Regions from separate parts of the Homo sapiens genome. Here region 2 is linked to region 1. The links are contacts of gene promoters, found by promoter capture Hi-C in human tissues and cell types (Jung and others, 2019). All regions are on one chromosome and are shown on one strand. The core of a region is centred on a gene start or on the middle of the fragment in contact, and the rest is flanking DNA. Distances in the headings are between cores, read along the strand shown.

The links. Contacts are between HindIII fragments. The study calls those that stand out against the background at their distance.
Region 2: a fragment that was not itself captured here is called in contact with the fragment with the promoter of DDIT3 in region 1 in 1 of the 25 tissues and cell types used here (spleen).

The regions. Positions count from the first base shown.
Region 1 is chr12:57,518,270-57,523,578 of GRCh38, forward strand. It overlaps DDIT3 (DNA damage inducible transcript 3), which reads right to left and starts at 2,245. Exons shown (of 4, transcript NM_004083.6): 1 at 2,149-2,245. It overlaps LOC128125814, which reads right to left and starts at 2,211. Exons shown (of 2, transcript NM_001414991.1): 1 at 2,149-2,211. The coding sequence starts at 2,211. MBD6 (methyl-CpG binding domain protein 6) reads left to right here and starts at 4,555. Exons shown (of 13, transcript NM_052897.4): 1 at 4,555-4,742. It overlaps MIR616 (microRNA 616), which reads right to left and starts at 990; the gene lies at 894-990. RefSeq lists enhancers at 1,081-2,042, 2,013-2,142, 2,017-3,216, 2,043-3,002, 3,003-3,963 and 4 more and silencers at 2,213-2,672, 4,387-4,786. The HindIII fragment of the contact is 17,458 bases long and covers 1-5,309 here.
Region 2 is chr12:56,118,042-56,123,350 of GRCh38, forward strand. It overlaps ZC3H10 (zinc finger CCCH-type containing 10), which reads left to right and starts at 225. Exons shown (of 3, transcript NM_032786.3): 1 at 225-277; 2 at 1,047-1,110; 3 at 2,470-5,309. The coding sequence starts at 2,522. The coding sequence ends at 3,826. RefSeq lists an enhancer at 3,114-4,111. The HindIII fragment of the contact is 3,704 bases long and covers 1,300-5,003 here.

The DNA.
Region 1 (5,309 bases), core at 995-3,494:
ATAATAGTAAAGTCCTGGCCAACTCAGCTTTCTCTAAATCCAAAGCAGGCCTCAAATCTGCCAGGGTAAAAACTAAACTACAGGGAAGGGAACAAATCATAGCATTTTCCTAACTCCATTCCCACAGGGCTGACATCCTCCAAATGTACATTTCCAGTCTGGACCTCTTCCAGAACTTCAGACTCTGCTGTCTACTGCCTACTTGCCATTTCTTTTTCAATGTCTAATAGGCACCTAAGACTATGTGCAAAGGCAAACTCTTGCTGATTTTCCCCTTCCAAGGTCATCCCCATCTCAGATGACAACTCTAGTTGCTTAAGCTAAAAACCTTGGTATCATCCTTCATTCCTCTTCTCTCACACCCTGCAATCCAAAGTACTAGCAAATTTTAACTCATTCCTTTTTTTCTGAGACGGGTCTCACTCTTTTTGCCCAGGCTGGAAGGCAGTGGCGCAATCGGCTCACTGCAACCTCCGCCTGCTGGGTTCAAGCGATTCTCCTGCTTCAGCCTCCGGAGTAGCTGGGATTACAGGCATGCACTGCCATGCCCGGCTAATTTTTGTATTTTTAGTAAAGATGGGATTTCACCATGTTGGCCAGGCTGGTCTTGAACTCCTGACCTCAGGTGATCCACCCACCTCTGGTCTCCCAAAGTGCTGGGATTACAGGTGTGAGCCACCATGCCCGGCCCTTAACTCATTCTTTAAAAATGAGTTTTTAAAACCTTTGCTTAGAAGAATCTAAACACTTCTAATTCCATTGTTTCCAATCTAGATCAATTCACTACCATCTCTAAATTACTGCAGAAACTTTCTGACTGCAGAAGGTCTTCCCATTTCTTCTCTTGCCACCCCTCCGCAACTCTATTCACCATACAGCAGCCTGAGTGAGCCTTTTAAAACAGGTCATTCCTCTGCTCAAACCCTCCAATGACTTCCTATTTCATGTCATGGAAGTCACTGAAGGGTTTTGAGTGGAGGAATTACCTAAGGTAATTCCTGACCACCTGATGTAACACTCTGACCTCCATCCTGAACATTCTCCATTCCTTTCTCTGCTTTAGCTTTCTCCGTGGCACTTATATTTTGTTTACTGTAGGCCTCCCACTGAGATGATTTTTTCCTCTTGCTCAAGGATGTACCCTGAGCCCCAAACTGTGTGGCACACAGTAGGTCCTCATTAAGTATTTGTTAAGAATGAATGGATAAACTCCCCCCAGTCTCTCTTATAGGGAAGGGGCAGAAGCAGAGTGGCAGCTGCTGATCCCTAGGGGCTAGAGATGCAATATTGCCCGAAGTATTTCTCTGCAGGGCTGTCCTCCCTGGGGAACCCTCCCTTGCCTTCCAGTGTGTGGGACTTGGCTTTCATCAGCAGTAGAGCCTCAGGTCAGAAGGCTGCAGAGCCAAACGGGGCTGGCCTGATGCAATGGTTACACAGAGATTAGCTGGGAGACAGGACCGGGTTAAAGAGGCAGGGACTAATCCCGAGGGAAGGACAATACCCTGGGGAGACCCCAAATGGCCTCCTACACTTAAGAGATCCAGGCTGCTCTCTTGTGCAGGAGGCCCAGAGACCTCTACGGCAAAAGGAAAACACACCACTCCCTGTCCATCGGCACCCCTCCCAAAGGCTTGTGTCTCCTCAAGGTTCCCCTATCCGCTGCAGGGTCCAGTAGCCCCAGCTACCAAGGTGGCCATGCTGACACCAGAGGCACTGAGACTGAGACAGAATTGGGGGTGGGGTAGGGAGAAGGCCCGCTGGTGGCGAAGCGGCGGAAACGGCCTGAGCGATGGTCACCCAGTCTTAGAGCGGGGGTGTGTCCTGCTGACCTGCCTCCCCGCGGACAGGCCTAACGATGAGGCCTGAAGTTGGCTACGGGAAAGAATGAATTTCCCAAGGGCAACCGAGGTCCCTTTGCCCAGCAGCACAGAGCAGGGCCCGTGTTCCGGCTCCGGGCAGGGGTGGAGAGACGCCGTCGTCCGAAGCAATAGGGGTTTGTAAGCACCACCCCAGAATAAGGGACTCTCCCCATTCCTCTCTCGGACGGTCCCTAACTTCACTGTGGAGGAGTGAGGCCGATCCTAAAGAGCGGACGCCCCAACTTTGAGGAGACGGGAGGGTAAAAGGTAGATGGGAATCAGTACTCGCCTCTCTCCTCAGGTTCCAGCTCTGATTTTGGCTCTGTCGCTGCCACCCGCTCATCTTTAACATGATACGCTCAGTGCCTTAGACTTAAGTCTCTGACCTCGGGAGCGCCTGGCTGTAATCTTTTACCATGGCCTTGCCCTCCTCTCAGGGGCGGGACCCCAAAACCTACCAATCAGAAAGTGGCACGCCGGCATTGGCCCCGCCCCGTCCCTCGCATCCGCCACTCAGGAGCCCCGCGGCACCGCCCCCGTCGCTCCCTCTCGCTAGGGGGTCGACGTAGTGTCGGACCCGGAAGTGGCTTTGGGTCACGAGGCTTCACGGAGGAGGTGGGTGAGTCATGCGCGCGCGCGGAGGGGAGTGTAGCGGGGGGGGAGGGGAGGAAAGGGGGGCGGGGATGATGCAATGTTTGGCAACCGGTGTCTGCACGCGCACGCGCAGGGGACACCGAGGGTGGTGGGAGGTGCGGAGGGTGGGGGAGAGGAGAGAGGGCGGGGCGCCAGCTCCCGGCGCCCAACGGCCCCAACGGCTATCAGCCTTGGTCGCCCCTAGTCGGTCGTGAGCCTCTTTGCCGCTTGTCTCCCCCAGAAGCTGCTGTTCCGCCCACCTAGCTTTACCCGCCGTTTTACCCCCACTATAAGGGACTCCCATATTTCTTGGCCCCTCCCAGCTAATGGGCACATAGGCCTTTTGAACTTTTCTTTTTAAAGTTGGTATCCATCCACTGGGATTGTCGACATCTCGAGTCTTCTTAAAGAGGTCTCCTGGCCGGGCTCAGTGGCTTACGCCTGTAATCCCAGCACTTTGGGAGGCTGAGGAGAGCGGATCACTTGAGGTCAGGAGTTCGAGATCAGCCTGACCAACATGGTGAAACCCCGTCTCTACTAAAAATACAAAAATTAGCCGGGTGTGGTGATGCGCGCCTGTAATCCCAGCTACTCTGGAGGCAGAGGCAGAAGAATCGCTTGAACCCTGGAGGCGGATGTTGCAGTGACCGAGATCGCGCCACTGCACTCCAGCCTGGGTGACAGAGCGAGACTACGTTTCACCAAAAACAAAAAACAAAACAAACAAACAAAAAAACGGGGGTGGTCTCCTGTTCTAGCCCCGTAAATCTCCCAAAAGGGGCCGAGGTACTGGAATCCCTTGGTAGTCATTTTCCGCTTCTCTCAGAACAGCGCCCTTGACTTTTACCTTGTAGTTGGTAAGCCCTCAGCCTGCCAGAAGTCATGTATTTTGCCCAGTGGACCCGATTCTGTTTGGCCACCTATTTTCCCCCACGGTACTCCTATGGCTTTCTCCAAGACCCTCTCTTGCTGTACCAGACAGCAAGTCCTGTGACTCCCTGTGTGAGGAGCGCGGCACAGGCCTGCCTCCTAGGTGTTCGGGTCGAGATTTACAGCGGAGTCTCATCCCGGGACGTGTGAGTGCACTTCAGCGCAGGACTGCCCTGGACTGGGGAGACCGGAGCCGCGATTTTAGACTCAACTCCCCATCACTTGCCAAGGGATCTTACCGTCCTTGTTTGTAAATTAAAGATAAAAGTTGTGAAGGTAAAATGAGAACCATGAACTTGGAGGCAACTTGACCAAAAGTAAAACGCACCACCCAGAATGCAAAGTATTTTTCTTGTGCCTTGAAAACAGAGGCCATGTGGTGGCCTGTTACATATCCTGTCATACCCTCATGGGGGCAGCCAGAGTTTAAGTAGAAACTGTCACAAGGCCGGTTGTGACTGGAGTGGTGTGGCAATGACAGGTCTTTGGTTAGGCTGCTCCGCTGCTCCACACCTCCATTTCCTCTCTGAAAATGGGGGTAGTGTGGAGGGTGGACCAGATGGTCTCCCCTGGCCTAAAGACAGACCAGGTTGTCAGTGACAGGCAGAGGTCATGTGACTTGACAGGCTGAGGTCGTGTTGTGACATGTTGACCTGGGGAGGCGGGTCAAGTCCCAGCACACTACCCGGGAAGCCTTTGGGGCGGGGCAGGGCAAGTCGCGACTTTCATCTTTCGGGGCCTGGCCCCTCCCGGACCTGGCATTCCTGGTTCCCGCAACAGACTGTGGCTTTGGAAGGGGCCCCTCCCTGAGGAGGGCTGGGATTGGCCACCAGTGGCCTGGGAAGAGGCGCAGATCCTTCCGCGGAGGGCGGGGGGGCCGCGTGGGGTGTTTGTTCTCTTGGGGATTAATGGGGGGTTGTGGGGGAGGGGTAGGCGCGCTCCCGCATGCGCACTGCAGCCCCTCCAGTTGGCTCGTCGCTGTCCGCTGGGCGGGGGCCCGGCCCCGCCCCTCTCCCGTCCGGGCAGCGGCGGAGGCGGCGGCTCCTGCGGCGGCGGCTGCGGCAGCGACGGCGGCGGCGGCAGCGGCAGCAGCCTGCGCAGTGCCTTCTGGGAACGGAATCCCCAGGGCTGCCCCTGGCCCCCATGGCGCATGCGCGGGAGGCCGCTCGGTGATCCGCGGCGGCGGCAGCGGCGCTTCCTGCTAGGACCGGCCGGGGCCGTACCGGAGGCTCGGGCTCCACCGACCCTCCTCCCACCCCCTCCCACTCACCCTCTGGGCCGCGACTGCGCAGGGCGGGGCCGGCCGAACCATGGGCCGCGGTGAGTGCGGGGCCCGGCCCCCCCCACCCTGCCCCTCCCCCTCCCGTCCCTACCCTCTGCCCCCTCCGCGTCCTCTCGGCCCCTTTCCCCGGCCCCATCCCCACTCCCCCGCCCTCACCTGCCCCCGCCGCTTCTCCCTCTCACTGCCAGACTTCTGCCTTCCTCACCGCCCTCCCCTCAGTGCTTCGCCCACCCTCCGCCCGCCCTCTCCCCAAGTTCCTTCCTACTTCGTGCGCCTTCCCCTCCTCCTCAAGCTGAGGGAAGCAGTCTGGGTGACAGGGCGCCTTGTTGTGAGAGGGAAAGTTTGGAAGCCGCCAGTGTGGGGTGGGAGCAATGGTGAGGCTGGGGAGGATACCTGCAGGTTGGAGGGGCTTCCCCTTCTATCGGAGGACAGGCTCTCTTGGAGATAATCGGAAGCCAGTGGAATAGGAGGTTCTGAATCCCTTTGCCGTAGGCTTGAGGGAAAATCAGGAGCTTCCCAGGATCCTGGGAGAAGACTGAGCTGTGATCCTCACCTCTTAAGACCCGAATGAACTATATCAGCGATTGTCTGATGGAGCAGGCATG
Region 2 (5,309 bases), core at 1,902-4,401, 1.4 Mb before region 1:
TGCTGGTACCGCCCCTTTCCAGGAGGGCTGCCTTGGCGACTACCGCTTAGACCATGTCGTGCCTTTGGGTTGGGTTGCCATAGTGACACGCAAAGCGTGCTGGGAACGCCCTGCGGCATGTCGCACGCGTACTTCATACACCATAGAGTATGGTTCCGGGTCTGCTGGCTAGAGCGTCACTTCTTCCGCAGGAAGCGGAAGAGCGATCGGGTAGGCGGCTCTTTGTCGAAGCTAGAGGACCGGCAGGCGGCAGCAGCAACTACGGCGGCGGCGGCAGGTGAGGGAGGCGGGAGACTTAGGTGGAGGCCGCGCCCGGAGGGGAGGAGTCGGGGCCGGCCCAGCGGCTGGGCTCGGCCAGGCCACAGAAGGCCCCCCAGAACCGAGCTGGCTCGTCCTCACACCCCAGGGCAGTGCCCCTTTTCTGAGTGACCCCGCATCGCGAGCAAACGCCAGCTTCGTGACGTCACAACCCTGCCCATCCCCTCAGCTTGATGACACCTGGAGCTCCAGCTCCCCGCTTCACTTCGCGCGCCCTTAGTGTCCCATTCACGTAGCCCACGGCTGAGCGCCGGCGGCACTGCACGGAACCTGCCAAGCTAGAAGACTTGCTGCGGGAAAACTCCTAGGACTTCTTTCGCAAACTCTAGGGTGTTGGGAAGCGTCACAATCACTGCCTTCAAGTCTAATCGGCCATCCCAATGCACTGTCAGACGCTGCCTTTTTGAGGTTCCTCACTAGCCATTACTAACTCCAGCCCTTGGCGGTGCTCTGACCCTCACATCCTCTTTCATCTTGAGGCAGGGCGCCCCGCACTCTTTGTTCACTCAGGGCTGGTTTTCCAACCCCTCCTCCCAGTCCCTCCGAATTAGTTTTACTCTTCTTACTGGCAACTTCTCCCTTGGACAGGTGAAGTTCAGTTTGAACCCTGAGGAAATCCTCACGTTCTCGAAGCTTTGCCGTTTTGTCAGATTTCTTGTGACAACCACCCCATAGTCCTCCACTCTTACTCCTTCTTCCACCCAAGTCTCTGTTTTTTTCCTGCTCAGAACCCAGCAGTGATGTGGAGGTGGAGACCCACAGGAGCCCCGGACTTCACCTGAGCTACCTCAGGTATCAATTCTGGGAGAGTGGGGTGGGGAGGAGCATCATAACTAATTATCTGCTGCTGGTGCGACTTGCAACGTGAGCCAGGCTTGGATAGATGGCATTTGTACTTCACCTGGTCATTCCCCTTTACTAAAAGTTTGTATCTTCTTTTACCACTTCTTTCCTTGATTGCTTCTATTATTCTGGGACTACCTCTCTTTAGAGGAGGAGGACCCTCTTACAGATTCTCTTGTAACTCTGGCCTCTGGTTTGGTTAGTTCATTTTAGGGAGATCTGAAGGCAAAGTCACAGTAGTGGGGTGGGGGTAGGTCAAGGCCAAAGGAATTAGGAAAGATTCCCTTATTCTCAAAGGGAACAATATGAAGTTTTCCTATTTCAGCAGCAGGGGGAGCCTGAACACCGCATAGGAAAGGCTTGGGAGGTCAGACACGTGGTAGCAGGGACTCCAGGTCTTACTGGGGGTGGAGAGAGGGGAGGGCTAGAACCAGGGCAGTGGACTGACATTCCAAAGCTCTCTTGGGAAATAGGAGACTTAAAAAGCTTTTATGGAGTCTATAAATAAAGAGGATCTTTCTGGGTTGAGGAATGGTGTGGTTGGATGTCAGTGGGATCTTCACATAGGGGAGTAGGAAGGGGGTGGGGAATGGGGAAAGGTCACTTGTTCCTGTGAAATTAACTCCTTCCCACTTGACCTTATCACAAATGGTTTGTCCTAGGAAATCTAGAAGTGGAGACTCTAACTTAGAACTCCTATCCTGAAATAGAAGGGGCTTACCTCTCTGCCGTTGACAGTGATGATGGCTGGGAGGGAATACTAAAATATGACAGGTTTTGAGACTCCCCTCAAGCTGGTGACACCAGTCTCTTCACCCAGGATTTCTTGGCTTCTAGAGATTTGATGTGTACAGAGCCCTTACCTGAGGAAAAGGAAAGGGGGTTAAGGAAGTTTTGTTACCAGTGTCCCATCTTCTACAGCCCTAGTAGCTCAGTAGCCCATCTTGGGCACTATTCCCAGTTTCCTTCCAGACTATTCAGATACTGACTGCAGTTTTAATTTCACTTCCACAACTTTAATAAGGTCAGCTCAAAAGGAAAGATGAATTCCAACACTATTTTTTCCCTGCTCCGTCCTGGGCCTATCCCTCCTCCGTTAGCCAGGCAAGTGTGAATCATTCTGACCCAGACCAGGTGCACAAAACCCTGGGAGGGGCTTTTGATGAGTCAGACATTTCAGCCAGAATTCTTATCCCTTAGATTCTCCATCTCTAAAGCCATTGCCCCTCTGGGCCACCTGCTTTATAGTCAGGAAGAGTGGGATCTCCCTGGAGGACTCCTGTTTGATACAGTTCTCCTCTTTTGTAGTGGTCACCAAGAGTGGCAAGATAAAGAAAACCCTGAGTTGGGCGGGACCAGGATGCCTGACCGGGACAGCTATGCCAACGGTACCGGGAGCAGCGGTGGAGGCCCTGGAGGTGGTGGCAGCGAGGAGGCCAGTGGGGCAGGGGTAGGCAGTGGCGGGGCCAGCTCAGATGCCATCTGTAGAGACTTCTTGAGGAATGTGTGCAAGCGAGGCAAGCGTTGCCGATATCGCCACCCAGACATGAGCGAGGTGTCCAACTTGGGGGTGAGCAAAAACGAGTTCATCTTCTGCCATGACTTCCAGAACAAGGAGTGTAGCCGCCCAAATTGCCGTTTCATCCATGGCTCCAAGGAGGATGAGGATGGCTATAAGAAGACAGGAGAGCTTCCCCCACGGCTGAGGCAGAAAGTAGCAGCTGGCCTTGGCCTTTCACCGGCTGACCTACCAAATGGCAAGGAGGAGGTCCCTATCTGCCGTGACTTTCTCAAGGGTGACTGTCAGAGAGGAGCCAAGTGCAAGTTCCGTCACCTGCAACGGGATTTTGAGTTTGATGCTCGGGGTGGAGGAGGCACTGGTGGGGGCTCAACAGGCTCAGTCCTCCCAGGACGACGTCATGATCTCTATGATATCTATGACCTTCCTGACAGGGGCTTTGAGGACCATGAGCCAGGCCCAAAACGCCGGCGAGGTGGATGCTGCCCCCCTGATGGCCCTCATTTTGAGTCATATGAATATAGTTTGGCTCCACCGCGAGGGGTGGAGTGCAGACTGCTAGAGGAGGAGAATGCCATGCTCAGGAAGCGGGTAGAGGAGTTAAAGAAGCAGGTCAGCAACCTGCTGGCCACCAATGAGGTACTACTGGAACAAAATGCTCAGTTCCGCAATCAGGCCAAGGTCATAACCCTGAGCTCCACTGCACCAGCGACTGAGCAGACTCTGGCCCCCACTGTGGGCACTGTTGCCACTTTTAACCATGGCATTGCCCAGACTCACACTACTCTCAGCAGCCAGGCTCTACAGCCTCGTCCAGTGTCCCAGCAAGAACTGGTGGCCCCTGCTGGAGCTCCAGCTGCTCCCCCAACTAATGCTGCACCTCCTGCTGCTCCACCACCCCCACCCCCACACTTGACCCCAGAGATCACGCCACTGTCAGCTGCCCTGGCTCAAACAATTGCCCAGGGAATGGCACCTCCACCTGTCTCCATGGCTCCTGTGGCTGTATCTGTGGCTCCTGTGGCCCCTGTGGCTGTATCGATGGCCCAACCCTTGGCAGGAATCACAATGAGCCACACCACCACTCCCATGGTGACTTACCCTATCGCTTCCCAGAGCATGCGCATCACGGCCATGCCACACTGATGGGGCTAATGGACACTCCCCTGGTATAGCCTCGCAGGGCTGGGGTCAGGGGGCCCTTGCCCACTCACCTAGCCTTCCCCATCCCTGTCTGAAGGGCTCCCTTGAGAACTAGGACAAGAGACTACAAGGAGTATGTCCTGAGGAGGGGTTGGGATGGTGTGTTTTCTCTCACCTCCCTTTTATGAGGGTCCTCTTGTCCATCTTCAAGCCTCACAGTGGGGGCTTGCAGAGGAGTGCAGACTGAAGCCAGCAGAGAGGAAGGACTGACTGAGGGGCTGTGTCCTCTTATGGGAATTTGGGAACATCCCTCGTCTTGTCCTCTCTTCTGCACAGCACAGGTTCCAGCACTGGTTTTAGAAGAAAAAAATACCCTGCCCAGAGGGAAAGCCAGGAAAGATTGGGAAGTGGGTGGTCAGGAGAGAAGGCCTGATAGGAGCCTTCAGACAATTTGGGTCCTAGTTGCTTGGGTTGGACAATACAGGAATTGCTTCTGGGCCCTGGGAAAGCTGGGACCATAGTGCTCCAGCCCAAAGACTAGGGGAGCATTCATTACCCTAGTTTGACCTGAAAATCCATAGGGCAGGGCCCACTACTTTCCAAAGAAATAAAAGAACAATTATTTTTAACAAATGGAGGCAGTGAAAACTTGCTTAGCTATTCTGTGTGGAAGATGGGAGCAGTAAATAGATCTCATGCCAAAATGGGATAAAGACCCCAGCCTCACATAGCTTTGGTAAGATGGATAGAAGCCAGTGAAGAAGGGTAGGGACCCAGAACAAGACCAAATGGGGCTTTGGGGAAGGCACTTTATGGGGTAAAAGCTTTGGAGCCACCCAGTCTAGTTTTAAAAATAGTCCCATCTGTTTCTGGTCTCTGTCTGTATGTGCTATTCCCAGGTTGCCTCAGTAACCAGGGCTCCTAGGGTCATTTAGCAGGGCAGGCAGTAAGGAGAGTGTATTTGCTGAAATGCGGATGGGATGTTACATAGTTGACAGATCCTTATTCAAACAGAGCAGGACAGGTGGAGTTGATGGCCATTGAGTTGATGGCAGTTGCCGCTCAGTTGATGGCAGTTAATGTCCCTCCTACCCCACCCCTTCAGTGGCCAGTTCCTGAAGCCTTCAAGGCTTGGGAGGTCTGGGAAAAGAGAGTCCTTCTAGGGACACAAGCCTCAGGGTCCATCCCTTTCCTCTGTCTCCACATAGGACCAGAAGTTTTAAATCTACTTAAGTCAGTAAGGCCAGGGGCCCCAATAGTCAAACCTCAGTTCCTCCTCAGCTCACGGCTGATGTAGGGAAAACAACTCAGGTGTCTAGTCTAATGGGACAGTAGATTTGGGGGTAGAGAGTGATCCTGGATTGTGTTCCCCCTCATCATGTCTCCTGCTACCTCTTGCTTTCTTGTCTGGTTGATCACTCAGGTCACATCTGGGATTGGAGATGGTGGGCTAGGTCAAGGCCAGTCATTAAAAAAAAAAGCCTAA